4 separate regions of the Homo sapiens genome follow, and all the other regions are linked to region 1. Evidence: promoter capture Hi-C in 16 types of primary human blood cells and fetal thymus (Javierre and others, 2016). All regions are on one chromosome and are shown on one strand. The core of a region is centred on a gene start or on the middle of the fragment in contact, and the rest is flanking DNA. Distances in the headings are between cores, read along the strand shown.

The links. The method cuts DNA at HindIII sites, captures the fragments that hold promoters and counts their contacts. A CHiCAGO score of 5 or more calls a contact.
Region 2: a contact is called between a fragment that was not itself captured here and the fragment with the promoter of BCL9 in region 1, in 12 of 17 cell types (fetal thymus, activated CD4 T cells, total CD4 T cells and 9 more). The highest score is 28.9, in fetal thymus.
Region 3: a fragment that was not itself captured here is called in contact with the fragment with the promoter of BCL9 in region 1 in 10 of 17 cell types (fetal thymus, activated CD4 T cells, total CD4 T cells and 7 more); the score reaches 15.8 in fetal thymus.
Region 4: a contact is called between a fragment that was not itself captured here and the fragment with the promoter of BCL9 in region 1, in 6 of 17 cell types (fetal thymus, non-activated CD4 T cells, activated CD4 T cells and 3 more). The highest score is 11.0, in fetal thymus.

Annotation. Positions count from the first base shown.
Region 1 is chr1:147,539,852-147,546,906 of GRCh38, reverse strand. It overlaps BCL9 (BCL9 transcription coactivator), which reads right to left and starts at 5,406. Exons shown (of 10, transcript NM_004326.4): 1 at 5,233-5,406. RefSeq lists enhancers at 1,299-1,817, 5,361-5,420, 4,981-5,735, 5,454-5,748. The HindIII fragment of the contact is 5,169 bases long and covers 329-5,497 here.
Region 2 is chr1:147,609,804-147,617,504 of GRCh38, reverse strand. It overlaps BCL9 (BCL9 transcription coactivator), which reads right to left. Exons shown (of 10, transcript NM_004326.4): 4 at 5,616-5,927; 5 at 4,306-4,622; 6 at 2,889-3,078; 7 at 1,603-1,702. The coding sequence starts at 5,668. LOC128071544 reads right to left here and starts at 5,915. Exons shown (of 1, transcript NM_001414892.1): 1 at 5,709-5,915. The coding sequence starts at 5,915. The coding sequence ends at 5,709. RefSeq lists an enhancer at 4,781-5,075. The HindIII fragment of the contact is 6,057 bases long and covers 1-5,437 here.
Region 3 is chr1:147,636,284-147,643,793 of GRCh38, reverse strand. It overlaps ACP6 (acid phosphatase 6, lysophosphatidic), which reads left to right. Exons shown (of 10, transcript NM_016361.5): 10 at 1-1,564. Among named protein-coding and RNA genes, the nearest start is that of ACP6, 30 kb to the left of the region's middle. RefSeq lists an enhancer at 1,939-2,440. The HindIII fragment of the contact is 8,089 bases long and covers 1-6,287 here.
Region 4 is chr1:147,660,773-147,667,682 of GRCh38, reverse strand. The region is part of intron 1 of ACP6 (acid phosphatase 6, lysophosphatidic); the gene reads left to right. Among named protein-coding and RNA genes, the nearest start is that of ACP6, 6.3 kb to the left of the region's middle. The HindIII fragment of the contact is 406 bases long and covers 2,301-2,706 here.

The DNA of each region.
Region 1 (7,055 bases), core at 4,157-6,656:
ATTCAAAACAGCCTATTCTTTCAGAAATGGTTCTTTGGTCTCTTGCACATGTGTCTGCATGCTGACTGGCAATTTCTCCTAAAGGATATAAATTAAAATCTCACTTTTTCCCATTGAGCTTTTCACTTCAAAATGTCAACATAGTCGCTATGATAGATATAGACGTATAGGAATGAATCCTATATATCCACAAAACCCACTACCCTTTCCCCTTTGATAACTATAGTTCTTGAATTGGGCTTCATATAAGGTGACCAAAGACCAGATTCATGAAGTATCCTATTCACAGAATCAGAAAAATACTGAATAGCAGAGCTGGAAGGAAGCTTAAAGATGATTTAGTCCAATTCCCTCATTCTGAGAGGTCTAGAGAAGTAGAATGGGGATTTCTAGGCCACAGACTGGCAAAACCAAAGCTAGAAGCTGGTCCATTGCACTTTGTAGAAAACATGTCATTATTAAACTAGAACTAGGATCCCTTTTTTCGATGAACACTCTAAATTCTAGTGTTTTAAAAAAAGGGGGGGGATGGCAAAACTTAGGCAACTATTATTATTTATTATTTTTTTTTTTTGGAGTCTTACTCTGTCACCCAGGCTGGAGTACAGTGGCGGGATCTCAGCTTACTGCAAGCTCCTCCTCCTGGGTTCACACCATTCTCCTGCCTCAGCCTCCGGAGTAGCTGGGACTACAGGCGCCCGCCACCAAGCCCGGCTAATTTTTTTTGTATTTTTAGTAGAGACGGGGTTTCACCGTTTTAGCCAGGATGGTCTCGATCTCCTGACCTCGTGATCCGCCCGCCTCGGCCTCCCAAAGTGCTGGGATTACAGGATTAAGCCACCGTGCCTGGCCCAAGGCAATTATTTTAATGCCAAGTCAACACGTTACCTTTAATCTGAATGTTGTGGTGATTGCCTCTGTTCTCTGCTTCTCATCTCTTGCAGAGATGGCCTAACAAGGAGATTTAATTAGCTAGCAGTTTCACCCCTCATTTTCTTGTGAGTCCTTGGGTGAGTCACATAACCTTACTCAAATATAACAGAAGGATAACAATACTGTTTAATTCACAGAGCTGTTATAATAGAGGACTAAGCAGATATTTTAAAGTGCATTAAAATGTCAAGGTTTAAAAGGAATGGAGAAAATTTCCATTGTACATCTTATATTTATGTCTCTTGGGAGTAGAAAAACTACAAAATCCCCTTCAGTAAAGCTATATGCAAAAGCCGTATTTGTAACTAGTGAGTTTTGGGAATGTCCTGCATGTTGTGTTGGTTTTACTTTCAGCAGGACTAGAGACTCTAGAATTTTTATTTATGCAGAGTACCTACACATTGCACCTTTAAAATGTCATAACAGTCTTCAGTTTTCTTCCCCCAGAGTTAAAGATGACCTGTTATCACTGCTGTCTGGCTCTCCAGTTCTGTTAAATCTTTCCTCTGACCAGATCCTCGTTTTACTCACTCCTCAACTCCCCACTTGGATTACTCCTCTTCTTAGATTACTCTTCCAATGCCAACTCAGACTGCCTCCCCAAGAGGCAGCTCCCCGGTGAGTAACACACTTGGGGTGGGGGAGAGTATGTCGGAAGTGATCAAAGACTTGCAAATGAAGTGCATACCGCTCAGAGGAGGAGGCGTTGGCCACAGGTGCCAAATGCAGACCACAGCAAGCTGGCAAGCTCCGGTTTAGGTTGTTGCTACAATGTGGGCTGGGCACATCCCTGTGTAACAATGCTGGGTATGTAGAAATGACTCTTATTTTTCTCATGACACGACTTAACCACACATTATGTGTGGGTTCCCAAAGTATAGGCATCGAACCTATGATTTATGTGTGGGTGGGCATGTCTGTCTTCTAAAAAAACTATTAAATTAATCTTAAAAAAAAAGATGGATTGACAACACTGAAGACAACACTCCACTGAGTACTAGAGAAAGACACGATGTAGAAAATGGTGATGCCAACATTAACACAAATCTGCCTCCGTGGAAATGACTGGCATTTCAACCAGACACTATATTCTTTCCAAGAAAGGCCACAAATAGGAGGAAGAGAGAGAGAGAGAGAAAAAACATTCTATCTTTGATATCACTAAACCAGTCAGATTTTAATAGCACAACCAGAGATCTGCTAAAAAGGTATTTAATTTTTTTTTCCCTTTATGAGTCCTCACTGGGAGGGGTAGGATATGTGTCCTTGCTGGGAGGGGTAGGAAAGGTCATTTTATTATATTGTCTTTGGAATTCCAAGATGACAGTGATAATGGTGGAGTCTCTTGCAGCTGAGTGTTTAGTACCAGCCCTGGAAGAACGATGGAATCAGTAAAACGAGATCAGAGTCTCACTAACCACGGTCAACATGAATTATCCAGGTAACAATGTTAGGCTGCTCACTACAAGAGTGAAGTTACTTCATGGCACAAGTGTAGGGGATTAGCAGATATTATTTGTTGGTCTGTGTGCTAAGAAAAAGAGAGAGAGTGAAGGATGGTGAGAGAGGGAAGGAGAATTTTCTGCTCTTTGGAATTGCTGGGCTCCCTGTGAATAGGAATGGCACCAGTGGAATGGAGGTTGGCTGGGGCAAGGGGAACTCAGCCACACAGAGAAAGAGAACAGTTAGCTTATGTCTAGTTACACACTTTGAGTCAATAACTTATGCAACTCTATGCACTCCGTCATAATACTTGCATGCTATTCAACAAGTATCATCAATATTATGATTACTGGTTTGTGTGACCATGTGGTTAATGTTGATCATACCAACAAGACTGTAAGTTCCCTGAGGGCAGGGGTATATCTGCCTTTCTCTTCCTATATCCTCAGTGCCCAGTATTTGCCTGCTGCAGAGTAAAGAGCCCCAAAATATAAGTTGAATGAACAAATGAATACATGAATGAATTTATGCAAATTCATGTTGTGGACCCATGTTTGCATATTTGTACCATTTGATGACATGAGCAGGGCAGAGTGTGCTGCTGTAATCCAGCACAGCAAGCAGAACTACAAAAGGTGCCTCTCTTTGGTTGGCCAAGTGCTGGAGTTTGTAAAATCAAATGTGGGTGTGAGGTAAGGGTACCCGGCATGAAGACCCTTGGGGTACTCTGAACCCCAGGGTGTGGTCTAGATGTTACCACAGCTTTGTTGCACCCGCCTCAGATCAGTGCTTATCTCTCTTGGACCTTAACATCCTCATCTATAACATGATGGAATAACACTTCTTTTTCCTTGCAGTTCTTAAATTCTAACATTTTAGGAAGATATCTGGACCCTGAAATCTTGTCAGGAACAACCATGGTAAGATCTCTGACTATAAAGTAGAAAACAACTAAGTTTTCAGATATATATATGCATAAAATACAGCTTTATTTTAATAAAACCTTAAATGTAGGGGGACCTTCTTGCCAGATCCAGGCCAACTAATGGCTTTCCTTCAGCTTTTCCCATACTCAGAAGTCAGGTTTCCAGGCCTCTGTGAAAAGCACATAAATATTCTCAGCCAGGGCTGGCCCTTTGCTTCAATCTCCAGCTATCACAGGGAGTCAGTCTGATAAACATTTGCAGTTAGAATGGAAGGAGGCACAGCCTCCTAGACTTTTACAGATTTTTTTGGACAAGTAGCAGAGTCACAGAAAACCTAGAATTAGGTAAGAAAGCAGAACTCCTCCAGAGAATTCAGAGAGAGCTACAACTGAGAGCCTTTAAACAATCAATGTGTAGGAACAGAAGAAAGGAAATCCACAATTCAAGAAAATAAGCAGACATTTTTTTTCCTCAAAAAAAATTGTTAAGATGAATGTTAGGCACTGATTTTAGCCCTCTGTTCCATCCCTCAAGATGTCACTTGAAAAAGCAAAAGGTTTTATCCACAAAACCACCGGCGAGTAAACAGCCTTCACATTCTTAGCCTCGTACACACACAGTAAGATATTTACTCTCTGATAAACAGCAATTGTAAATAAATCTCATTTAATCTCTAAAAGCCACAATAAAAATCTTTAACCTCCAAGGTAGAGTTTACAGATGCGTCTGCATGCCCTGCCAGCCCCAGAAAACACAAGGTCTTGAATAAACTACTATACCAGGAGGCACATTTTCTCGCTCAAGCATCTTACATTGACCTTCTTTAAAACAAAAATACGTACAAGGAGGAGGAAAGGGGAAAACCCAACCCCTCCCACCCCATTCTCTGTACAAATCGGCCAATAAATCTAACGAAAAGACACAAGAGAAAAAGGACAGAAGCCAACAGGTGGAACAAGGCTTTTTGTTTCCTTAGAAATGCTCAGACACTTGATCTGTGCTCCTCAGTCTATTTGTCTCAGGGTGTCTTTAATGATGTTTTTATTACCCTGATGATGATGATCAAGAATAATGATAACACTTCTACTCTGTGATTCCACAGCATCTCTAGCTGACGATTTCTCCACGCGTTTCAGACACAGTGATCTGTTCTGTTTCGCTCAATCCCAGGGAGGCATACAGCATCCCTGATCAGCAACCTTGATTTTACAGATGGGGAAATTGAGGCACGGGGCACCCCACAACTCAACAGTCTCTACGACCAGAGGAATCCCTGAGACTGGAAAAGTTTCTGGATCGTCTTGTGGCAGAGTTCTCTTGCTCTCCCTTCTTGCCTGCCATGCCGCTCCTCCTCGGAGAGTCTGGGCTGGGGTGGTAAGGATCGGGGTGCCTCCCCTTCACAGCGAGGCACGCCAGGGCAGTGTGTGGGAAGTCCACACGCACACACAGACCCACGGGCACACTGGCACACACAAAGCTCGATGCAATCTCTGCAGTCACTCGGCGGAGCCCTGGCCGGCCCTTGCTCAGCCTGAGAATGCACAGCTCGGAGCCTGCAAGGCCTCCCTGGGCTCTGGGCTGGGGTTTCCCTGAACCAAGGCTCTGCCCTTCTCTCCCTCTTTTCCAGGCTTCCCTCTCTCGCGCTCCCTCTCTCTCTCTCTTTTCCCTCCCACCCTCACACCCTCCTCCCAGCCCTCTCCATCCACCCCTTCTCCCCCACCAACCCAGAGGCACAGATCGTGTTACTGGGGTTCCCTCGAAAGAGGGGCCATCCCCAGTCCTGGATGCCTTGAAAGACTTCCAGGGGCAACGCAGGAGCTCCAATCGCAGGACCCCAGCGCTCCTCCAGAGCAGCGCAGGAATGAGACCCCCACTTCCAGGCACAGGCGAACAAGCCTGCCACCGAAGAAGGAATTGTTAGGGCTCTTACCTTTTTTATGAGGAGAAATTCTGGAGAATCATTTCAGAAACTGAGGGGGGAAAGTGAATGAAGACAAAAAAGACCCTTTTCCCGCAATCCCTGGCCTCCTGGTATCAAGACACCAGGACAACATCAAAGCAACTTAGGGGGAACACTTTAGGGGCCTATTGTCTGCTCTGGTCTGATCTGTTTTTCTTCTGACTCCCCCTCTTGCTGCGGTGACACTTGGTACGGCCCAGGCATTCATGCCAAGTAGCTTTCACACATGGAAGCTTGTCTCAAGCAATTGCTGACAAGCCACAAACAAGACATTCTCCCTCCCTTCTCTGCGCCCCCCCACTCCTCCCCCCTCCACCTTTTCCTCCTCCCCTCTTGTCTCCCCTCCTCCTTTCTTCTGAATGCAAACTAAAACTCTCCAGTGACAGGCAGGCTCGCAGGCTTGGCCTAGCTGCGCACGCAGGCACACACACACACACACACACACACACACACACACACACACACACTCTCTCTCTCTCTCTCTCTCTCTCTCTCTCTCTCTCTCTCTCTCTCTCTCTCTCTCTCCTCTCTCTCTCTCTCTCTCTTCTCTCTCTCTCTCTTCTCTCTCTCTCTCAAGCAGCTCAGCTAGTTGCTGCTGCACTGGTGGAGTTAAGAGACAGGAAAAAGCCCAGGCTGAGTTGGGGGCAGGGAGAAAAAGAGAGGGAGAGCGAGAGCAGAGAGCCGCCTCCTGTGTCCTAGTAAAATGGCAGAAGAGAGGTGAGTCCTTTGGAAGAAAAGCAGTGGCCACACACGTGTGCACACATACACAGACTCAGGCCATCTCAGCGCCAGGAAAAGTGAAATAAATGACCCGACAAAGGAAAAAGCAAAGTCCCATTAGCTGGAGATTGGGGGAGTAGGGAGATAAGAGGGTGAGTGGCCCCAGGACTGGGGTTTCTGTTGAGTGGTTAGGTGATTTTTCTTCTTTACAATAGAGAAAAATTTGTTTCCTAAGGATCTAGCCTTCTTTCACTGCATAATTGAGCATGGACTTGAGCTACTAGTTAAAATAAAATCATGAAATGTGTAAATGTGTGAGTAAACTTAACTGTAGGTTCAACTTGTACCCAAGATATTTTTAAAGTGAAGCTTTTTTTATTTTTTTTTATTTTTTATTTTAGCAGAAACCCTAGAGAGCAGTAGCAAGGAGAGTAGTAACAAGTAGTGTAAACTAGGAGAGCTGTGAAGTGTGATGCTAAAGTTACTGATTGCCAGGCTGCTGGAATTTATGGAGGGTGGGCCTGAGAGTTGGAGGAGGGGAGGGTGAGTGTGCTGTTTTCTAGGAATAAGAGGGGAATGAGGTAGGATAATGAATATGGCAAGAAACAAGCAGGAATTTGATTGGTGTGGAGGGAGGAGGTGGGGGCTGTAAAGGAGTGGAGAGAGAGAGAGAGAGAGAGAGAGAGAGAGAGAAACAACACTGCATTAAAAAAAGAAGAAAAATGGAAGCCCAGAAAGATTGAAACATGCAGAGTAAATGAGATGGTAAAAGAAGGCATAAAATGTGAGCAAAAAGGAGCACAAAGGATGTGCAAATTTGCAGATGGCATGAAATCAGGAGGGCCAATTGAGATCAGGAAGAAGAATGACAGGATGATTATATGACATTCATATTTTTAGATACTGTGGACTCACAGACCTAACAAGGTCTCCTCTGCCTAGGCCAGAAGAGTTATCCCTATGCAACAGGATCTGAATGGAAGCTTAGCTCCTAACTGCTGCTGAATCAGTTCTGTACTTTTTCATGAAGATTGTTTAGACTCTATTCCTCAGAATCTTCCTTTACAAAATGG
Region 2 (7,701 bases), core at 1,160-3,659, 74 kb before region 1:
TTCTGTACAGTTAAAAGTATATTTCATATCCACACTCCTAACTGGAGTGTAGAGGTCACCTTGATTTTCCTTCTAGTGCCATTTTAAGTTTGGTTTTGTTGGTCAGGTTTTGTTTGTTGTGGGTGGATACTGATTTCATATAACGAAACCATGACGTCAGAAAACATTTAGATGTGGAACAATGGATTATTCCCAATTCCTTCCTTAACTCCTTTCCTGATTTTAGTACCAGAGAAGGTGTAGGTGTAGGTATTAAGGTGTAGGTATTAAGAACTGCCATTAAGTCAATAAAAGGTTGGTTTCAGTTACACTGTACTATATTCATTCCAGGACAATAAGCATTTTAAATATAACTGTATGCATCTTCTACCCTTGAGTAGTCAAGATGCATGGGGAATATGAAATTCCTTTTCTAAGTTTAGGAAGGCCTAAGCTCTGCTTATGTCTACAAAGATGGAGACTTTTCTGATACACAAAATAGGAAAGATGTCACCTATTTTATCTTGAATTGTCACTTTGATCATTTATTGTCAATTAACTTTTCCCATGTTTAAGACTCATCCCAGTATTAGATTTCATGCTCCCTGAAAGCAGGGACTGTGTCTTGAACTTCTTAGTATCCCCCATAGCATTTGGTGCAATGGCTTGACGATGCCAGATACAAGAAGTATCTTTTGGTTCAATTTGGTAAACTACATGCATTAAAACATCCACTGTATGCTTTTTTTTTTTGAGACAGAGTCTCACTCTTATCACCCAGGCTGGAGTGCAGTGCAGTGGCACAATCTCGGCTCACTGCAAGCTCCGCCTCCCAGGTTCAGGCCATTCTCCTGCCTCAGCCTCCCAAGTAGCTTGGACTACAGGCACCCGCCAGCATGCCCGGCTAATTTTTTGTATTTTTAGTAAAGACGGGGTTTCACTGGGTTAGCCAGGATGGTCTCAATCTCCTGACCTTGTGATCCGCCTGCCTCGGCCTCCCAAAGTGCTGGGATTACAGGCATGAGCCACCACGCCCGGCCACTGTATGCTTTTTCTAATGGAGTTTATAGCAGGTGCTTAAGATCCAGATAGAAAACAGACTAACATTTATTACAATTTTACAAATATCAAGCAATTAAAAACATTCAATGGTCTTATCACTTTGAAATAAATATGAATCACTCTGAAAGTCGATGAGGCTCTGATTATGATACTGTCATCATGTACTCTAGAAGTTTTAATTGTTGCTTTTTTTCTGTTCTTTCTTTGTTATTCAACTAGCTCAAGAGTGTTATTTTTAAAAAACCTGCTCTGTACACAGGGTCTGAATTTAGATTTTCCCAGAGACGATTACATGAAGGAAACCCAAAGATATCTGTATAGCTCCTCTTTTAGTTTGCATCTTCTTCCCCCTAGTAATTCATCAATCTACCAGCTTTCTCGTAGAAAAGGCTAGTATAGTATGATATGCCTAATGCCCCACAATGCCAGAATTAGGTTAAATGCCAAGAATGCAACTCATGCCATCAAGACTACCTTCCTATCAATTAAATTCACCACCTCCTTTCCTTTGCAGTCACTGTAGAATCATTAAACCATTACTCAGTTTCTGAAACAACATACCAGAGGCGCTGTGCTTCTCTCTGTCTTGTTGTTAGAAATGTTCTGGATGTGGAAAGAGACGATAGTTTCAACCTGGCCCTTCAAAACAGCTTCTGCAGCTCTGCAAAGATGGAAGAGACAGCACACACTAGAACTTGTTTCTATTTCACTAACTGTAATTCCAAAGCACTTTAACCACACAATAAACTTGTAAGGGAGAGGAAGGAATAGAAAGAACCACCAGAAATGTTGAAGAAGAAATCAAGACAAACATGTTTCATTATTTATATTTACCACTTATCATCAAACTTCTAAAATTAAAAGACAGCCATTAGCAAATCCCAAAAGAGGCATTAAAAGACAAAAACCAAGATTTTCTCCTGAAACTAATCCGCTGTGGTAGGTGTTTTATAGAGAATCCGAGTTCAAAATCCCAACCCAAGAAGGGGGAAGATGAGATCGTACAATACCTAGTGATAGTTTAAGGCTGTTAAGATTCACTTTTTATCTTAAGTGGAAAAAAAGTCAGAAAACCATATATGTAGGGTATAATCACAATTCTGATAAATAAAAATTGATGCATCCATCCACTAAAAATTTATATATAAAAATGTTTACAGTAGTTATCTCTGTGAATTCCAGAGATATTAATTTTTAGTTATACTTTCTAATTATTCTAGAATGGACATTTGTTACTTGTGTTGTTTAGAAAATAATAATAGGTAGGTTGCAGAAAAGTGTGTATTGTGCAATCAACTTCTTCTGTTTAAAAGAGGTATATATGGCCAGGCGCGGTGGCTCATGCCTGTAATCCCATCATTTTGGGAGGCTGAGGCAGGCAGATCACCTGAGGCCAGGAGTTCAAGACCAGCCTCGCCAACATGGTGAAACCCCATCTCTACTAAAAAATACAAAAAATTAGCTGGGTGTAGTGACGGGTTCCTGTAATCCCAGCTAATCAAGAGGCTGAGGCAGATGAATTGCTTGATCCCAGGAGGTGGAGGTTGCAGTGGGCCGAGATCTGCCACTGCACTCCAGCCTAGGCGACAGAGACAGACACCATCTCAAAAAAAAAAAAAGAAAAAGAGATATATATGTATATTTGTACAAGCACGAAAAATTTCTGAAAGGGAAGCAAAGGATGTATTATCAGTGGTTGCCTCTGGGGGAGTTTGGGTTGGGGAGGTTTTATGTTTTATCTGTACTGTTAACTTTAGGTGATAATAAAAGATCAATCTGCAATGGGAATAAGAATTTAGGTCCCCAGACAAGCCCTGCCCAACAGCAAGACACAGCCATCAACTTACTTATTGGCCATCTCAGTAGAAAACACGTACACCACTTTGGCTGGAGTCTTCTGAGCAGGTGTGGGCTCTGTGGCAGTAGTTTGGCCATGGGAGGGGGTAGAAGACCTGGGGGCTGTAGCATTTGATGGGGTCATCGAGTGTGGTGTGTGCTGGGAATCCTGGGACTTTATGTGGTCAGCAGAATTACATTCTAAAAGAATAAAATGACTCGTCACAGAAAGAATAAAATTTCCTTTCTTCTGCCAGCATATATAGCATCACAACACAAACCCACCTTGAGAATTTCAAGGAAGTACCACCTTGCTAAGAGGAAACCTCTTCTACTTATAAAATTTCAAATACTCTTCTCTCTCAAATGACTAACCATAAAGCAGTCTTCCCCAGCTTCCTTACCTCTCTATTACACCTCCTTCATATATTAGTGTAAATGTCCCTTCTTCTGGTAACCTTTTTGAAACCTCCTAGACTTAACTGGGGATGGATCTCACAGCCCTCTAACTTCTCTTATTTCAGCATTTATCATATTTTACTGTAACTGTCTAATAATCAGCTTTCTAGGTGCATTCAAATCTTTGAGGACAACAGCTGTATCTATCTTGCTGACCATGGCCCCCCAGCATAGTGCTGGCACTCATAGCAGGCCTGCCAAAACACTTGAGGGAGGAGGGGAGGAAGGAGGGGAGAAACAATCACCCAAGTTTCCATTTCTAATTTGGGTTGGAAAATCATACTTCCATTCCTTGAATACTAACTTCATGTTCTGGCCTACAGTTAAGACTTTTGGTCTTATACTAGGAGGAAAAAGCCTAAAACCACAGCTGTTGGTCCCATACCCTTCTTGGCTCACTCCATTTTGGTGCCTGCCAAATCTCTACACATCTGGTAGCCACTCATTCCTGCTACACTAAAATCAGCTGTAACAAATCTGGACTACTGCCAGGGCCATTAAGGCTTCCTCTTGTGTCTGAAGTCTGGCAAAATGGCAACTAGAGAACACAAGACCCAAGCCTTGGAGGATTGCTCTGATGGAGAAGAGAAGGGGATACCAGAAAAACTACCCCAGTGGGGGCCACTGGCACAGACAAACTAGAGCTACTGGCTTGAAACTAAAGTACAAACAGCATAGAGGCCAGAAACGTGTACGAACAGGGATAGGCCTGTGAAACATCCTACCATAACCCCTAAACCGTTGCATCCTTAAGGGCAAGAACTCCTCAACTAGGAGGTTCCAAACAATTCTTCAGTTAGTAACAAAATGAGAAGAAATAGTTCCATCATAAACTGTGAGAACTCATGAATCTGATACCTACTCTCCCCACTTGTCTGATATTAGGCTCTCTGGCCTCTGTCGAATGTCAGAGGCCTTCCCTCAGGAACACCTACTTCCCTCTGAGTCTCAAAGATCTTATAGACATACCTTTAATGTCAGAGTCATCGTTTGGAGTCCCAGGATCTCTCTGATCAAAGGAGTCGGCGGAAATACTTCGCTCCCTTTTCCCCTTGCCCTTGGCACCATTTCCAGCCCCATTCTTCAGCCCCATGCTCCCACCTGGGCCAGGGAGTGCTTTAGGGGTATGGCCCCCACTCTTGGAGTCACAGGGGGATGGCTGGGATTGGCTGGCTGAGCCCCCCTGTTTACCCTGATTGGAGAATTTGGAATCCAGCTGGGGGTTTCCAGATGGGGACATCACTGTAGGGGGACGGACCATCACCTCCTGCTTTGACTTAGGGCTACTAAAAGAAACAAATAACAAAGGAAGATCAGACACCAGATACAGCTGGTCAGCACAAATTAGAGAGAGGCAGTTTCTATTGGGGGTCAAGGAGACCCTTAGGACTAAAATAACCACCCCATGATTCACCTCAGCCATTTGCTTGCTCCCGCCACCCCTGATCCCATCTCAGAGCTATCAACAGAGAGGAGGATCAAGCAGAGTGGCCTGCCAGGTTTCAGGAACCCTACAGTCACATGGGGACCCATCTCCAGGGCTTCTGTCAATAAAGGACAACGGTTTCTATGTACATAGAGAGGTGACTCTTACACTAAGACTAGCTCAGAGTAAACAAACAGGCATCGTTAAGATCAAAATACTACCCACCCCCAGGCTGATGACAAGGAACAGCTGTAGGAGAGCCTCACTTCCCTGCTGGAAAATGCAAGCTGGTCCCAAAGAGCACGGGAGCTGGTGACTGTCAGGTTAGGGAAATCCTCCAGGATACTAATCCCTCCCAACAAGCAGTATTACACCAAAGCAGATAAACCAACCACTGCCCTCAGGGAGTGAGGACAAAATTCTTTTAAAGTAACAATTTAACTACTGTGAAACCGAGGAAAAAGTGTCACAGTGGGAGTCCGGGGAATAACGTTTTAGTTCTACGACATTAGGCTTCCTCACCATTCCAGGCCTCAGTTTCCTTGTTTGCAAACTTAGGCAAACTGTACTGGTTGGTCTCTATGGTCCTTTCGTTTGTGCTTTGGCAGGGAGGTGCGGGGAGAGGTCAGGGAATGATGGACAAAAGAATAACAAAGGAAAACTCTAACATAAGCTTTGATTACACTGTATCCTGCTTACTGTTATATTACTATTTACTAGTCTATTTTCTCTTCCTTTCCCATTTGGGTTTCATTTATTTCTAATTCAACATACTGTTTCACCAATGAGTGTTCATGATGTGCCTATGGCATCCCCAAGGGGCTGCAGGAAGAGGCCCCAGCCCAGCCCTTACCTCTGTGTGTTTCCTGATGGAGAGCTCCTCACTTTAGGGTTACTGGAATGCATTGATTGAAATCCTGAGCTTGCAGTCACAAACGGGACAGGCTCACCGAGTTCCTCTCGGGTTGCAGCAGAAACAGCTGCTGGGGGCAGTGGCACTGGCCCACTGCTTGCTGGGTGCGTCCCTTAGCGCTCGCTGCCTGTATGCCTTTTTCCTCTTTGTTTTTCTCTGCTGTGGAAGTGGGTCCTTTCCCCTTGCAGCTCCAGCATTCTCTGGGTGCGTGCCTCCTGCTGCCAGAGGAAAATCTCGCATCTCCAGGGCATACTACAGGAAAAGGCCACCCAAAAAAAGTTGGGAGCAAAAACAGAGACATAAAACACCCTCACAACAGGATCAAGGTGAAAGCACTAGCCAACTCAGCGAAGCAGCTAGACCATGCCTCCACTTCCATCAGGGTGAAAGGGTGATGCTCCCATTGTGGACAAAGGCTCAGGGGCCACACCAGCTGGAGGGTGACTAGGACTTCCTGCCAAGCATGCAAGCCTCCCCCGCAAGCAGCATGGACCAGGCAAGGGTGAGCAGGTGAAAAAGGCAGTTTTCTCTTTAGCTATGTATTCTCCCTTACATTTCTGTAGTTTTGAATACAAAACCCTCAAAAACTTGTGTCTTTCTTTTTTCAAAACAATGCTTTGAAACCCCTAGGTACCGCAGATCCATAGTGACTATCTGGTGTTTCAGTTCTGATGGCAAACAACAGCACTGAAATGAAACAACCCCCCCAATTTCAAACCATGATGCAAATTAATCTATGTTTACACTCTCAGGGCCTTGGGGGCGGGGGGACTTTAAAGGAGGTACTTCTGAAATCAAATATTGAACCAACATCAAATACAATCAGTTCTGCCCCCTGATTTCCATGATCTTTCTATTAAATTATGCCAAGTATGTGTCTAGTGTTCTCACTGCTTAATGACAGGGACTGCAGGCATGGGTAAGCATGGGAATGATCCATAATTCTGAAAGTAAAAGAACATCTTTGAAGGCTAAGATATTTTTTGAGCCAATTTGCAAGGCTAATTTGAAGCATAAAGGTCAAGAAAATATTCCCAAACCTAGCTAGAGAACAAATGAGAAAGTCCTTTATTCAGGGAAGCCTAGACAAATTCAGGTAAAACCAAGACATACTTTAAGTCTCTGCTCCCTCCCAGGGTAATTCCATTATGGTTTTCTTGTAACCACTATCCCATTATCAACCCCCTTCCAGCTTCTAGTATCTTACTGACAAAGTATAGGAATGAAGGAGGAGAATATTAGGTGCAGGACTAGTGACTACAGAACCAAAGGGAGTTAGAAACAGCTCAGGTGTTGCAGCTTACATGTACTTTGAGAGAATGGAGACTGGGCTAAAATTGGGAGGATCAATTATATCCTAGGTTGTAGCACTATGATCACTGTCACATGTTAAAGGTCTATTTCTTCATTTAGAAATCTGCAATAGTCTCAGCTATTTTACCTGGGACAGTGAAAGAAATTTATGGAAGTTCTGAGTACACTCAATTAAATTTTTTCCTTTTTAAATAAAAAAGTCAGGAAAAAGAACTAGAATAAAAACATTATGAATGTTTCTATGCTGACCTCAGGAGACAGCATGTTAAAAAACATTTTGGTCTTGATCATATTTAAGGTTCTATTTTTATCCCCATCAGCTTCCAGCTTTTTTTTTTTGGTTTAGACTAAGAAATGGATTCTGGTTGTCAAGTTGGACATATATAATCATAAACCATTTTGTAACCTCTCAATGAACATTAGAAATCACTGGGAAAATAGAAGTAGAAAATGAATCCTGCATGGACAAAGCCATCAGAAAACATTTACCTCAGGAAAAGAAAAGCAGTTACCACCTATATAGTCCCCCTCCACAACTTCTTCTAGTACTTTCTGTCTGCATCACGTATTCTAGCACTCAATCACATGTCGTACTGAATAATACTAGGTGTATATTTTATCACCCTGTGAAAACTATATTCTTAGAAGCCAAGAACCTTGTTTTAAAGTTCTTTTGTTTTTCTATAATACTCAGCATGATGTACTAAGCATG
Region 3 (7,510 bases), core at 994-3,493, 100 kb before region 1:
TGTTATAGCAACACAAAATGGACTAAGACAACAGTATACTGTTATGAACTATGGTCACCATGCTGTGCACTAGATCACAAAAACTTATTTCTACTGTTTAACTGAAACTTTGTACATTTTGACTAACATCTCCCTTTTTCCCATCATCCCATCCCATTCTTACTATCGTTGAAGATGGAGTATGCCAAGTAGTCCTGAGCCATGTCCTCACCTCGGGGTGAGCACCTGTTGTTCCTGTGCCTGGAATGCTCTCCTAGACATTTGCGTGGCTAGCTCCCTCTTTTCATTCAGATCTCAGCTCATTGTCATCTCAGAGAGGCCCTCCTTGCCCTCCTTCTACCTCCTGCCTTAGGTATACTCTGCCACCTTCTGTCATGGGCTGAATTGTGTCCCCCCTAAATCCATATGTTGACATCTTAACCCCTAGTACAGTAAGTCCTCACTTGATGCTATCAATAGGCTCTTGGAAATGTCGGCTTTCAGTGAAAGGACATATAGCAGGTCCTTGAATAACATTGTGTTTTGTTCAACATCGTTGCCTTGTAACACTGATGAGCAAAACAGTTGGTTCTCTAATATGTTGTTTTACTTAAAGCTACAGTTTCCAAGAACCTATCAATGATGTTGAGGACTGAATGTACCTCAGGTGTAATGTATTTGGAGATAGGGCCTTTTAAGAGGTAAAGTAAATGAGGTCATATGGGTAGGCTGTAATCCAATATGACTGGAATCCTTATAAGAAGAGGAAATGAGGACACAGACACAGAGGGAAGATGACTATCTGCAAGTCAAGGAGAGAGGCCTCAGAAGAAACCAATGCTGCTGACACCACGATCTTGGACTTCTAGCCTCTAGCACTGTGAGGAAATAAATTTCTGTTGTTTAAGCCACCTAGTCTGTGATACTTTGCTACGGCAGGCCCTAGCAAATGAATACACTTGTCTTGTCTTTCCCCCGCCCTGTGATATTTATCAGTGCCGGATATTACATATTTGTGTATCTATATGCTTATTTCCCTGACTAAAATGGAAGCTCCATGAAGGCAGATTTCCTCTTGTTCACTGATGTGTCCCCAGCACCTGGAATAGTGCCTAGTGCATGCCAGTGCTCAGACACTTGGACATTTGAATGACATATCCCCTCTGTCACTTCTCTCCGGGGCCCAAGGCCACCCTCCTAGGTTACCACAGTGGCTTCCTAATGGGCCATACCCTCACTTGCTTTCCATCACCCCCTGAGACCTGGCCCCTGCATACCTCTCCAGCTTCACCCCTCACATATCTCCCTAGCCAGACCTATAGTATGTTTAAAAAAAAAGGAAATCGCACTCCTCTGGCCTCTTTACCTTGGCACACATTTTTCCATCACCTGACCCCTGACCCACACTCCCTTTTCCTGTGTAATCCAATTATCTCTAGGCCTCCCGTGTTTCTGTTTGTCCTTCAATAGAAGGTTGTTTGTCTTGTCTTTTATTGTATTTCTAGAACCAAGTGCAGAGACTGTACAAAGTGGACCTCAGCAAAGATTTACCGAATGAATAAATGAGTTCAGAACGCTGACTTAACTCTTCTGTTGGCACCCAGGTGGCTTCTATGCACTCTCCTTCCACTCACCACCAGGGGGAAGCATGGAGTAAAGGAAAACACCAAGGCTTTCGCTGGGTTCAAATTCTGACAGCGTATTTATTTCCTTGCAACGCTTGGACGGGTGTTTCTGAGCCTGTTTTTCCTCTCATGTAAAAATGGGCATAATGATACGTACTAATTAGGGTTGTTGTGAGAATCAATTAAGGAAACGTATAAGTGCCTTCAAGTATTCTTATTTTCCCTTTTCTCTTTCATCTCACTTCCCACGAGATTCTTAACTGTGGTAGGTTTCGCAAGCCAAGGGAGCCTTTGGGGATGCTCCTCTGCAGGCAGCGCCCCGCCTCCGCCTGCCCTTCCCGGGGCACTGTGCCTGTGTGTGCAGGAGATTTGTACAGAACCCTGGCTCCCTCACTCACCAGTTGTGTGACTGTGGGCATGTCACTTAATTTCTCTGAGCTTCCATTTTCCCAACTATAAAGCGGGGAAGTTAATGTTTATCTACCTGATGATTTGTCCTGAGGATGGAAAATAGGGTGTGAAAAGCTCTTCATAAATTCCTAACCTGTCCCTGCCTTGACTCCTTTCTCTAAGGGGCCTCAGAGTGCTGTTGAGGTTTAAAGAATTCCCACAGGAGGCTCTCACCCGTGTATGGCAAAGTGAAAGGCTTCCCAGGACGGAGGAGAGCCAGGCTTGCCAGGGAAGGCCGACTTCATCTGCGGCTCCCCTGATAGCTCTTCCCGAGGGCCTCGTGGCTTATCTTACAGAGCTCTTGGCTCTGGCAGGCCCTGGGATGAAGGACTGTCATTAGACAAGACCCTTCACTGCCATGTGCCTATTCCCCTGTAACAGTTAGTTCCACGTGGATCGTTAAAAACTGCAGCAAGGGGACAGAAACCCTGAAGGGCCCAACTGAAGAGGGAGGAGGAGAGAGTTCCCGTCCCACCCTCCCCTAGTCCTCGAAGCACCGGGACCTGGAGTGCTGACCTGTTTATTTTCATTGTAGGAAACTCAGGTCTTTGTCAGTGGCACCTGGCACCCCTTTTCCTCAGCTGGAATCCTCTAGGGCACCGCCATCTACCTGCAGAGGAGGCTGGGCGGGCTGTGGGGGGAGGGGTGGGCTAAGGGCACCTACCCTGTCTACAACATGCCAGGAAGGGATCATTCTTCGGCTTTGGGCTAGAGCGTGTCCTGGGGCTGCTAGGCAGCGATGAGTCTCTTCTGCTGGGTGGGGAATTCCCCGGGGAGATGGCTGTGTGCTCTCTTCAGACCCTGCCCTCTAGTGGCCAAGGGGACTTTGCAGCCCGGCCCTTCCCAGTCCACCCTGCCAGCCTCTAGAAACCTGACCCCTGTCTAAGGCTGGCTGGGGAGAACTGAAAAACACTTTCCCCAGTAAAAAGCTGGTCTTCTCAGGATTCCGCTCTCCGTTTGGCCTTTAAATAAAATGTACCTTTTCCTGAAGAAATTGGGAGGGGGGCAGTGGCCCACAGTCACCATGTCTGAGAACTCAAGAGACCACTGATCTTGGAGTCATGTGCTCTGAGTTCAAGTCCTGCCCTGTACCTACTACCTGTGTGACTTTGGGCAAGTCCATTAATTTCCTGTTGATAAGCCTGTATATCTTTATTTGTGCAATGGGACTCTAATATAGCATCTCCCTCATGGAATTATCCTAGGAATGACATAGATTAGGTATGGAAAGCACTTCCTAATATGAAAAGTGTTATACAAATATAAGCCATTGCTCCTGCTATGCCAGAGGAGCCTCTTTGTGGCTCCTCCGGAGCATTCCTCAGGGCTGTGGGCAGTGGGTGCCTGCGGACCTAGATGGCTTGCCCCTGGGTGGTAAGATCTTGGTGGCTGAAGACTAGGCTGTTTCAGGGGTGTTTAAGCCACATGAAGGATGCTGAAAGAAGCACCTACCTTGGAGATAAGAGCCAGGGATTTGGATTCCAGTTTTACCACTTTCCTGGGCCCTGTGACCTTGGGCAACTCCTTTAGCATGGCAGAGTTTCTGTTTATCCACATGGAAGGATGGTGATACTATCTGCTGGGGTTAGGGGAGGGGGATGTAAGCAAAATAACCATGTGAAAGGGTATGGAAGGTGCTACCTCCTCAGATACAAGTTTTGAACCTGCATCTTCTTGTATTTGGGGCTTAAGGAAACTAGGGTCCAGCAGCTTACTGTAAGCCAAGAAGTTTGAGTTGCTCTGTGTTGTACAGAGATTTTTAGAGAAGGCAAGTATGTGTGCTTTGAAATCAAAGGAATAGCTAAGTCAAGCAGTAAAGGGAGTGTGCCGGGAGGCTGGGGCCAGTGTTGGTAGAGCTGTTTATATTGGTAGGAAAGCAGGGCATTTTTCTCTGAGGCAAGCCTTTCACAAAGGAAAATCTGGATTTGAGAGAGATTAAAAGTCTCAAAGGTAGGGGAAAGATGTAAGGAAATGGCCTGCACTGAATCACTGCAAAGGACAGTATTCATCAGAGAATTAATTTGGAAGGAAATAGAGTGTGAAATAACAGCAAGGCTTTCAACTCTGGGTACCATGGCCTTAAAAACCCAAGCAGTGCTTCAGAGGCTTGCCAGGACCCAGCCTGGGAGCTACCTCCGGAAAAGCAGCTGGGGGATGCCCAGAGACCACAAATTGCTGAGCTTGGGAGGAACTGATTGAGTGTGTAATTAAGGGGAGGGTTGTATAACACTTGGGTAAGTAGAACTTGATGGGGTCAAACCAGCAGGGCTTTTGGGAGATGAGAGAGCAGTCCCTGGAGCTGTTAGTAACTGAAGCCAGCTGCATAAAGGTAGGCACAGCTTACCTGGGCCTTGCACAGAGAAGAATGGAAGAGATCAGGAAGGGGAAAGGTTGAAGGAATGGTTGTTCTCTAGGTCAAAAATTCCAAAATGCTGAATACCTCAGGGGTTCAGTTCTAGGAGTAAGGTAACATTATGGAACAATGGGGAAATATCCCTGGAAACTGAAGATCAGAGAGCCTGTGGCTTGGCCAAGGTCATATAGCACCATGGAGATTTAATGGATTCTGAACTGCGATTGTACATCTTGGCCAGGTGGCTCACACCTGTAATCCTAGCACTCTGAGAGGCTGAGGTCAGAGGATCGCTTGAGCCCAGGGGTTCGAGGCTAGCCTGAGCAACATGGCAAAACCTCATCTCTACAAAAAATTTAAAATTCAGCTTTACGTGGTGGCAAGTGCCTGTAGTCTCAGCTACTCATGAGGCTGAGGTGGGAGGATCACTTGGGCGTGGGAAGTCAAGGCTGTGGTGGCCCGTGTTCGTGCCACTGCACTCTAGCCTGGGTGACAGAGCAAGACTCTGTCTCAAAAAAACAAAAACAAAAGCAAAAACCAGTGTATTTTTCTGTGCCACACTGATGGTGAAGACTGGAAGGTAATGGTTTGGAGTATAAAGGGAATGTCCTTTGATCATGTATGGGGATCAGGAAAGGAAATTGTTCGCAGTATATTTGTGGACAAGATGGGTATGTATGGGCTGGATACTGAAGCAACTAGGCATGTTCACCACTGGTTAAATTACTGGAGCCCCAATCCCTGGTATACAAGGCCTCATGGAATAGGCCCCCTGCCCACCTCTCCAGCCTCATCCTCCACCACACTCCCTTTTGCTCTCCCGCTAGATCTCAAGGAGTTGGCTGCCTCTTGTCATTTTAGATCTCAGCTTAAATATCACCCTCTCTCACATGGGAATATATGTATATACATATATATTTAATTGAGTGTTTATTTCTACAGAGACACAGTAGAAGCCCAGTGGTTAAACACACAGGCTCTACAGATAGACTACCCAGGTTGATGCTCCATCCTTTAGGATCCATATGACCTTGAGCAAGTGACAACTTCTCTGCATTTTAATCTATAAAATGGGAACAAGAAGAGTATTTACCTCATAAGGCTTTGTGAGGAATAAACACATAAAGCATTTAGAACAATGGCTGGCACATAGGCAAGCTAAACAATATTAGCGATTATTTGTTTTTAAGTGTTTATTATCCCTTGTAACCTTCTCTGCAAAAAGCAGGAACCTTGTCTGGTTGGTTCACTGCTGTATGCAGTGAACATGCTGGATGCTATCTGTAGATCATAACCTGGCATGTAGTAGGGACTCAATTTGTACTTACTGAATGAATTTGCTGAATTAATAAAGAAACTAATTCAGTGGTCAGCTGTTCTTCAGGGAAGTGTTCCATGTTGTATGATAGGCCTTTGCCCTGTTGGACACGTTTTTTTCAAAGATTTGCATAAAATACAACTGAGTAAAGATACAGGGTGCAGACTGGCCACATTTACTGAAGACATACAACTGGGGAAAATCACTTACTGGATGACTAATTGAATGAATGAATAAATGATAGATGTCTTAGATATGTTTGTGCTGATATCAGTTTTAGATCCTAGGCCAAATATTTTAAGATGGAACTTAATGGAGACAAATGCAGAGTTCTGATCTTGGGGCCTCAAAATCAGTTGCCCACAACTGAAGAGGGGTTTTAGTGAGGGATTTGTTCAGTGTGAATCCATAGTATGATGTGTTCCTCAAAATCCTAAATGTGCAATGGCTATCCTGGTACTGGAATGAAGGAAGTGATGTTCCATCCTGCACAGTTCAGAGCACAGCCAGGGAACTGTTCTCAGATCTGAGAGCCAGACTTGGTAGCAGAGCTAGACAAGCTTGTCAATTGGAGAAAGACCATCAAGAGGAAGGGATCAAAGAGACAGAGGGCATATCAAATATTTGATTTATGTGGGCACTGAGGACCACACGCAGAACAGTATTGTGTAAGTTGCAGGGATGTATAGACTTGAGATCAACATAAGGAAAACCTTTGAAATAATCAGAGCTGACCATGGATGAATTGGGCTACCTTAGAGGGTTCTTTTATAAGCTTACACTGGCATTAGGCAAAGTATTGTAGAGGGTCACACACGGGCCAGTCCCTGCCTACCATGAGAATCTGAAGTTCTAGGATTCCACAGCATCCTTCATTCTCTGTGAACAGTTTGAGTCAGAGTCAGGCCTCATTTTGCTTTTCATGTGGTCAGGGATGGAGTTTGGTCCTCTAATTAGATGATTCTGAACTTTAAAAGCAGGAGGAGAGAAGTGCTTGAGAATCTGGTGACCCCAGTGTAACCTTATTAAAGTGTTGCTGTTATCCCCACCTTGGGCTGGCTGGGCCTGGGGACTCCAGTAGCTCTTGAAAATGCCTTCCTGCTGTGGCCACCACCATCCCATCATGGAATTTCCACTGTGGTGCTTCTTTCTCTATGGCTTTTCTGTGCTACCTTTCAGTGCCCAGGAGGGCAGCAAGAGGGGTCCCTGGGTGTCCCTTCTGAAAGAAGAATCATGATTTTCTGCTTCAGCTAGAACCCTCTTACTGCCCAGCTGGTGTATCTTGTGAGCTTTCTAATTTACCAGAGCAGCCATTTCATATCTTTTTGCATTACAGCCTAAGGCATCTCTCAAAAATGCTCTGATAACTCATACTAGGCATACACACATGTTGTCCGATAACAGTTTCACAAAAAGCCTATGACATCCAAATGTGAAGCAGCCAGCTCAAAGAGATCAAAGTCAAATATCCAGGGAGAGGCAGAGGCAGGACTCAAACTTTCACCTTTGACCTGAGGATCAGCATGTTTTCCTTCCATATCTGCACATCTGGCTTCCGGGATGTGTCCCTTTGTCTCTTTGCTTTATCTGCTTCATCACACATGGCACCTTTCTCCTTTCACTTCTGGTATCTTTCTTTCCCCAAAGCTTACCGCTACCTGTGCTTCAGTTCCTGTCCCGCTTCTTGTGATCTTCCTGCCAAAGATGGCAGGACTTCTTTTGTGTCCTCAATCCTTCCCACTCAATTGGTTCCTTCCTTTCTGTCTTAAATTAGTAGTACTTCTG
Region 4 (6,910 bases), core at 1,254-3,753, 120 kb before region 1:
TCTGCTATTAATTATAGTCAGAAGGGACTGCCTGGCAAAAATTTTTTGTCTTTGGTACATGTTTCCTGATTTCTGACTGGTTTATAGATTAATATATGTGACAAGTCACTTCATTCAGCCATCTCACAAATTCTCAGAAAGTAGCATGATTTAAAACTAGATGTTTTGGCTGGGTGTGGTGGCTCATGCCTGTAATCCCAGCACTTTGGGAGGCTGAGGCAGGTGGATCAAGAGGTCAGGAGTTCGAGATCAGCCCGGCCAAAATGGTGAAACCCCATCTCTACTAAAAATACAAAAATTAGCCCGGTGTGGTGGTGGGCGCCTGTAATCCCAGCTACTCGGGAGGCTGAGGCAGGAGAATTGCTTGAACCCGGGAGGCGGAGGTTGCAGTGAGCCAAGATTGGGTCACTGCACTCTACCCTGGGTGATAGAGCAAGACTCCATCTCAAAAACAAAAACAAAAAACTAGTGTTTTATTGGGTTGTTTTCTTATGGCTTGAATGGCTGTTGGTTTAACCTGTTTTGCTAAAAGATTGTGCTTTGGAAATAAAAATATAGAACTTGATTGGCCATTTTTTTTCCTGATCATTAGAGCAGATCCAAATGCACTATCAAAAGAAAAGATTTGGCACTGCTTCCAGGCTTCCCTCAACTCCCCTGGGTGTCAAGATGGCCTCCACCCAGGGAGATTCCTCAGTTTTTATAAAATAAAGTCCAACCTACCCCAGCTTCACTGTTGATTAAGACATTTGGGTCCCTATTTATTTGACAATATAGATGAGCTGGGAAGCATAATGTAAGAATCTTTTATTGCTTAGTACCTTTCCAAAACTCAGCTAAAAGAAGCGGTATTCAAGAAGCATTACATGAGGTCCACCCATTCTTCAGGATCGATGGTTCTTAACCGTGGTGAACATTGGAGTCAACTGGAAAGCTTTAAAAAATACACATGCCAGGGTCTCCCTCCGAAGGATTCTAATTTAATTGGTCCGGGGTATCCAGATAATGTAAAAGACTCTCTGGTGAAGCTTGAGAATTATCTGGACTGAAGAGCATTAAAAAAGTGGAGGCCCCACTTTTTTGGGGGATAATCCAAATGCGGTTATCCCAGGTTGGGACTCAGGCATCAGTAACTTTTAAAAAATGTCCTGGTAATACCAGTATACAGACAAGGTTTAATATGATTGCTTTATTTTAAAATCTACACCTGGGAGGTTTTTGTTTACTTTTATGTAGATTTGTTCTTTTACCTGGAATGTAGTATATCAATCCCAGTACAGAATTGCCTTCGCTGAAATGTGCTTTGGTAAGAGGTTATCTTTCTGTGTTGAGAGAACTAGGAGAAACAATCCCACAGAACTCATTGCTGTGACTGCTGAAAAGATGTTCATTATATTACTCTATCCTCTTTATGAGGACCCTTGGGAGGAATTTGTCTGTTAGCATTAGGAATGGTGTGCTTCTCCTGAACAATTGGCTTGCTTTTTTCTTTAAACTAGTCTAGCTGATCAAGTTTGTTTCTTTATGTAAAAGTCAGGAAGCTGGGTGCCAAGTCTGTGGCCCACCTATAGTAAGTAAACAGATCTTCATGGTGTACATATTTTAGTAACCGTGTTACTGCATCCATTTCTTTGTCCCTACATTTGTTTGCTTTTGTCTTTCTTGCCTACTTTGAATTGGTTGTCTTACTATATTTTAATTTTTGCTATATCTACTTTATTACCCCTTGAAGAGGGGTATACACAAAATAAGTAAAATTATCAAGTTAGTCTTTGCCACTAACTGGGAAGCTTAAGAGCAGGAATGAGAATGAGAGTGTGTATGTGGGGTGGACACTATTATATGAAACTGATGTATCATCCATTCTTGAAAATCTGAAAACTGTACTTTAGACTTGACGTGACCTGGACTCCAGACTCCTAGGAGACGCCAAGGGTCCTCTCTTGGTGAATGTGCCTAACAGATTTCTTAGTGAGGCTGAATGGCCCTGTGGAGCTTTGTGTCAGGCCCTGTGGTGGACACTGGAACTACAAGGATGGATAATTCAGTCTTGCCTTTAAAGGAGTTTCAATGTGATAAAGCAGAGACAACAGATATCAATTAAGGCAATATGCTGGGAGCACTGGGAACACAAAGGAGGTGTCTCCAAATGTCCAAAACTGAAATCAGCTTTCCACCTGTTTTTCTGTCTTGGTCTTAGTTTTAGTCAAGGAATATCTCCATTACAAGGCTCAAAAATCAAAGTAGTCTCTTTTTTGTTCTTCTGTGTTTACCTACCAACACAGTCCCCACATAAAGCTTTTATTTACTCACTTGCCAAGTCTAACTCAAATGTCTTACATCTACCTCCTCTATTGTTAACTGGCTTAGATGAGGCCTTAGGCTCTCATGTGGACTATTGCTAACATCTCAAAATGGGCTTTTCTGCATCTAGTCTTCCCATTCCAATTGTGATGTATGCTGCCAGGTTTCAGATTTATTCTGTGGAGCCTGTGGGCTAAGAGGATGTTGAGCGGCTGGGGCTGTGGGATTCCCTCCTACTTCAACTAGAGAAATTCGAGTTTTTGCCTTTATACATACAAATCTAAAGTTAAACTTTATGTGGTATTTTCTGATTTAAAAATTGGAAAACCATTCCCAGGTTGAGGCAAACCAAACCACTTCTTTGCCATACACATTCTTTACCATCTCTGCTTTGCGCAAGCTTTCTAGTTATTTTTGGAATTCTGAATGTCACCCTTTATAAGTACAGGTATTTGCTTGTCTAAATACTATTCATTTAAAATGCTATTCCCTCAATGAAACTTCTCCTGAATCCCCAGCCAGAAGAGAAGGTCTGTCTTGCCTTTGAACTGCTATGGCCTTCATATGGTTTCTTGCAGCACATGTCAGCTTCTATTATGGTATTGCTGTCATTTACATTCACAGCTGGCCTTTTTTCTTTACTAACTTGAACACCCAGGAAAGGCAGGGTCAAGTTTTCTCAAGATGGGTATCTTCCACAGGAGCTGGCAAATTGTTGGAGCTATTAATTGTACCTACTGTGTGTGAGGCCCTTTGCTGGGAAACAGAAGTCAATAGATGACCGAGTCTCTGTTCTCAGGAAGCCAGGACAGACCAGTAAAGGAGCTCGTTTAATACACTTTGGTAAAGGCTACTAAAGAGAGCCACTGAAGCTACTGTGAAAGCATAAGGCCATGACCAAGGTTTCTGGGAACACTTAAGCTAAGTCTTAAGGAATGAACAAAAGTCTTTCTAAATGAATGAGGAGAGAAAATTCCAGGCATAAGAAACATGATACTGAAAGGCCATGAAATATGAGAAAGGAAAGGAAGTTGCGTGGCTAGTGAGTAAGTATGTAGAATAGGGAAGAAGTGGTAAGGGGGCTGCTAGAGAGGAGGTGGGGCCACATGAGCCATGAACCCTCGAAGGGTTTTTTTTATCCAGAGGGGTTAGAGGGTCAGAAAGAGGGAGCAGTGATTAACTGTGAAAGAAGGAAGAAGGCCTCTCTGTGAACACCTGGTCCTCTGATGTGTCAGAAGGAGGTTCAGGTGTTGGAGACCAGGTGCCAGTGGGACTGACACATGCCTTTGGGAAGAATGGAGGGCTCCCTAGATGCCAAGAGAATCTGAGGCTCCCAGTACCATTCTCCTGGGATAGTTCGGGGAGGGTAGAAGATAAATATGACGATATGTGACATAGTAGGTTTCCAAATGTTAGTTTTAAAACTAAACAAAGTAGTAGGAAATTGAGTTAAATTTTTTTTGTTATCAATGTTATAGGAATTCAGATTTAAAAGATAACCATCAAAAGCCAGAGTGGTCAGTGATAGGGAAGTAAGACTTGAGCTATCCTTGAACATTGAAGACAAGGTGATGGGCAGATAGGAACAGGAGTCCCTCCAAGCAAGAGAAGCAAGCTGGAAGAAGATGCAGAAACAGTGGGCAGGTTCTAGGTTGGAGGGGAGGAAAGAGGCAGTGAAGCTGAGTACAGGGGCTGGACAAAGGGGGTAGAAGTCCTTTTTTAAAATTTTTTTAAGAGATGGGGTCTTGCTGTGTTGCCCAGGCTGATCTTGAACTCCTGGCCTCAAGTGATGCTCCCACCTCAGCCTCCCAAAGTGCTAGGATTACAGGTATGAGCCACTGCACTCAGCCACGATGTAGAAGTTCTTGAAGGACAGATGCTTTCCTCTGAGACATTAGGAAAAAGTTACTGATATGATGACACTGGCTTAGCAAGATTAATTAGGTGATTTTGAAACATACAATGCATTATTATTTATTGTAGTCACCATCCTGTACAATAGATCACTAAAGCTTATTCTTCCTGTGTAACTGAAATTTTGTACCCATTGATAAAAATCTCTCTTTCCCCATTTACTGCACCCCCCCACCTCTGATAACCATCACTCTACTCTCTAATTCTGTGACTTTGACTTCTTTAGATTCTACACAGACAAGCATACCTTGAAGATATTGCAGATTCAGGTCTAGACCACCACAATAAAGCAAATATCGCAATAAAGTGAGACCCACAGTTGTTTTTTGTTTCCCAGTGCATATAAAAGTTGTGTTTACACTCTTCTGTATCCTATCATGCAATAGCATGTCTAAAAATGTACATACCTTAATTTAAAAATGTTTTATTCCTAAAAAGTGCTAGTGATTACCTGAGCCTTCAGTGAGTCATGATCTTTTTGCCAGTGGAGGGTCTTGCCTTGATGTTGATGGCTGCTGACTGATCAGGGTAGTAGTTGCTAAAGGTTGGGGTGGCTGTGGCAATTTCTAAAAATAAGACAACAGTAAAGTTTGCCACATTGATAGACTCTTCCTTTCATGAAAGATTTCTCTGTAGCTTATGACACAGTTTAATAGCATTTTACCCACAATAGAACATCTTTTGAAATTGGAGTCAATCTTCTCAAACTCTGCCACTGCTTTATCAATTAAGTTTATGTAATAAATCCATTGTTGTAATTTCAACAGTGTTCACACTATCTTCACCAGGACTAGATTCCCTCTCAAGGAACCACTTCTTTGTAGTAACTTCTCATGCATTCAAGTTTTATCATGAGATTGCAGCAATTCAGTCAGAACTTAAGGTTCCACATCTAATTCTAGTTCTCTTGCTATTTCCATCACATCTGCAGTTACTTCTTCCACGGAAGCCTGAATCTTCAAAGTCATCCATGAGGGTTGGAGTCAAATCTTCCAAACTTCGCTTAATGTTGCTATTTTGACCTCCTCCTTATAAATGTTCTTAATGACATCTAGAATGGTGAATTCTTTCCATAAGGTTTTCAATTTACTTTGCCCAGATTCATCAGAGGAATCACTATCTAGGGCAACAATAGCCTTACAAAATGTATTTCTTAAATAATAAAGACTTGAAAGTCAAAATTACTCCTTGGGCCATGGGCTGCAGAAAGGACATTGTGTTAGCAGGCACAAAAACAATATTAATTTTGTACATCTCCATTAGCGCCTTTGGGTGACTAGGTGCATTGTCAATGAGCAGTAATATTTGGAAAGGAATCAATTTTTTCTTTTGAGCAGTAGGTCTCAACAGTGGGCTTAAAATATTAAGTAGACCATGCTGTAAACAGATGTCCTGCCATGCAGGCTTTGTTGTTCCATTTATACAGCACAGTCAGAGTACATTTAGCATAATTCTTAAGGGCTGTAGGATTTGCAGAATAGTAAATGAGCCTTGGCTTCACCTTAAGGAAACCAGCTGCATTAATCCCTAATGAGAATCAGCCTGTCCTTTGAAGCTTTGAAGCCAGGCATTGACTTTCTCTCTAGCTATGAAAGTCTTAGCTGGGATCTTCTTCCTATATAGGCTGTTTCTTCTGCATTGAATATCTCCATGTTATCAATAAGGTTGTTTCACTTTCTCATTGTTTGTGTGTTCACCAGAGTAGTACTTTTAATTTCCTCCAAGAACTTTTCCTTTGCATTCATAACTTGGCTGTTTGGTGCAAGAGGCATAGGTTTTGGCTTATCTTAGCTTTCTACATGCCTTCCTTACTAAGCTTAATCATTTCTAGCTTTGGATTTAAAGTGAGAAACTTGAAACTTTTCCTTTCACTTAACACTTAGAGGCCATTGTAGGGTTATTAACTGGACTAATTTTAATATTGTTGTGTCTCAGGAAATAAGGAGGCTCAAGGAGAGGGAGAGAGATGGGGGAAATACCAGTCAGCAGAGCACTCAGAAAACACACAACATTTATTGATTAAGTTTGGCATCTTATATGGGGGCGGTTTGTGGCGCTCCCAAATAGTTAAAATAGTAACATCAAAGATCACAGAGTTCAGGATCAGCCTGGGAAACATGGCAAAACCCTGTCTCTCAAAAAAAAAAAATTAGCTGGGCATGATGGTATATGCCTGTAGTCCCAGCTGCTCGGGAGGCTGAGGTGAGAGGATGAGCCAAGGTAATGCCACTGCACTCCAGGAGGCAGACGTTTCAGTGAGCCAAGATCATGCCACTGTACTCCAGCCTGGGCAACAGAGCCAGACCCCATTTCAAAAAGAAAAACAAATCATAAATCATAGATCACCTTGACAGATTTAATAGTAATGAAAAAGTTTGGAATATTATGAGAATTACCAGATTTTACACAGAGACATGAATGAGCACATGCTGTTGGAAAAATGGCACTGATAGACTTGCTCAATGCAGAGTTCTCCAAACCTTCAATTTGTGAAAAATGCAATCTCTGTAAAGAGCAATAAAATGATGTATGCCTATGTTACTAAAAGGTTAACTTTACATATTTTCATCACGTAAAAATGAAAGTATGTGAGCTGATGGATTTTGTTTACATTAGTTAATCATATATCAAATGTAAATATATATGAAAACATCACATTGTACTCCATAAATATATACAATATACAATTATT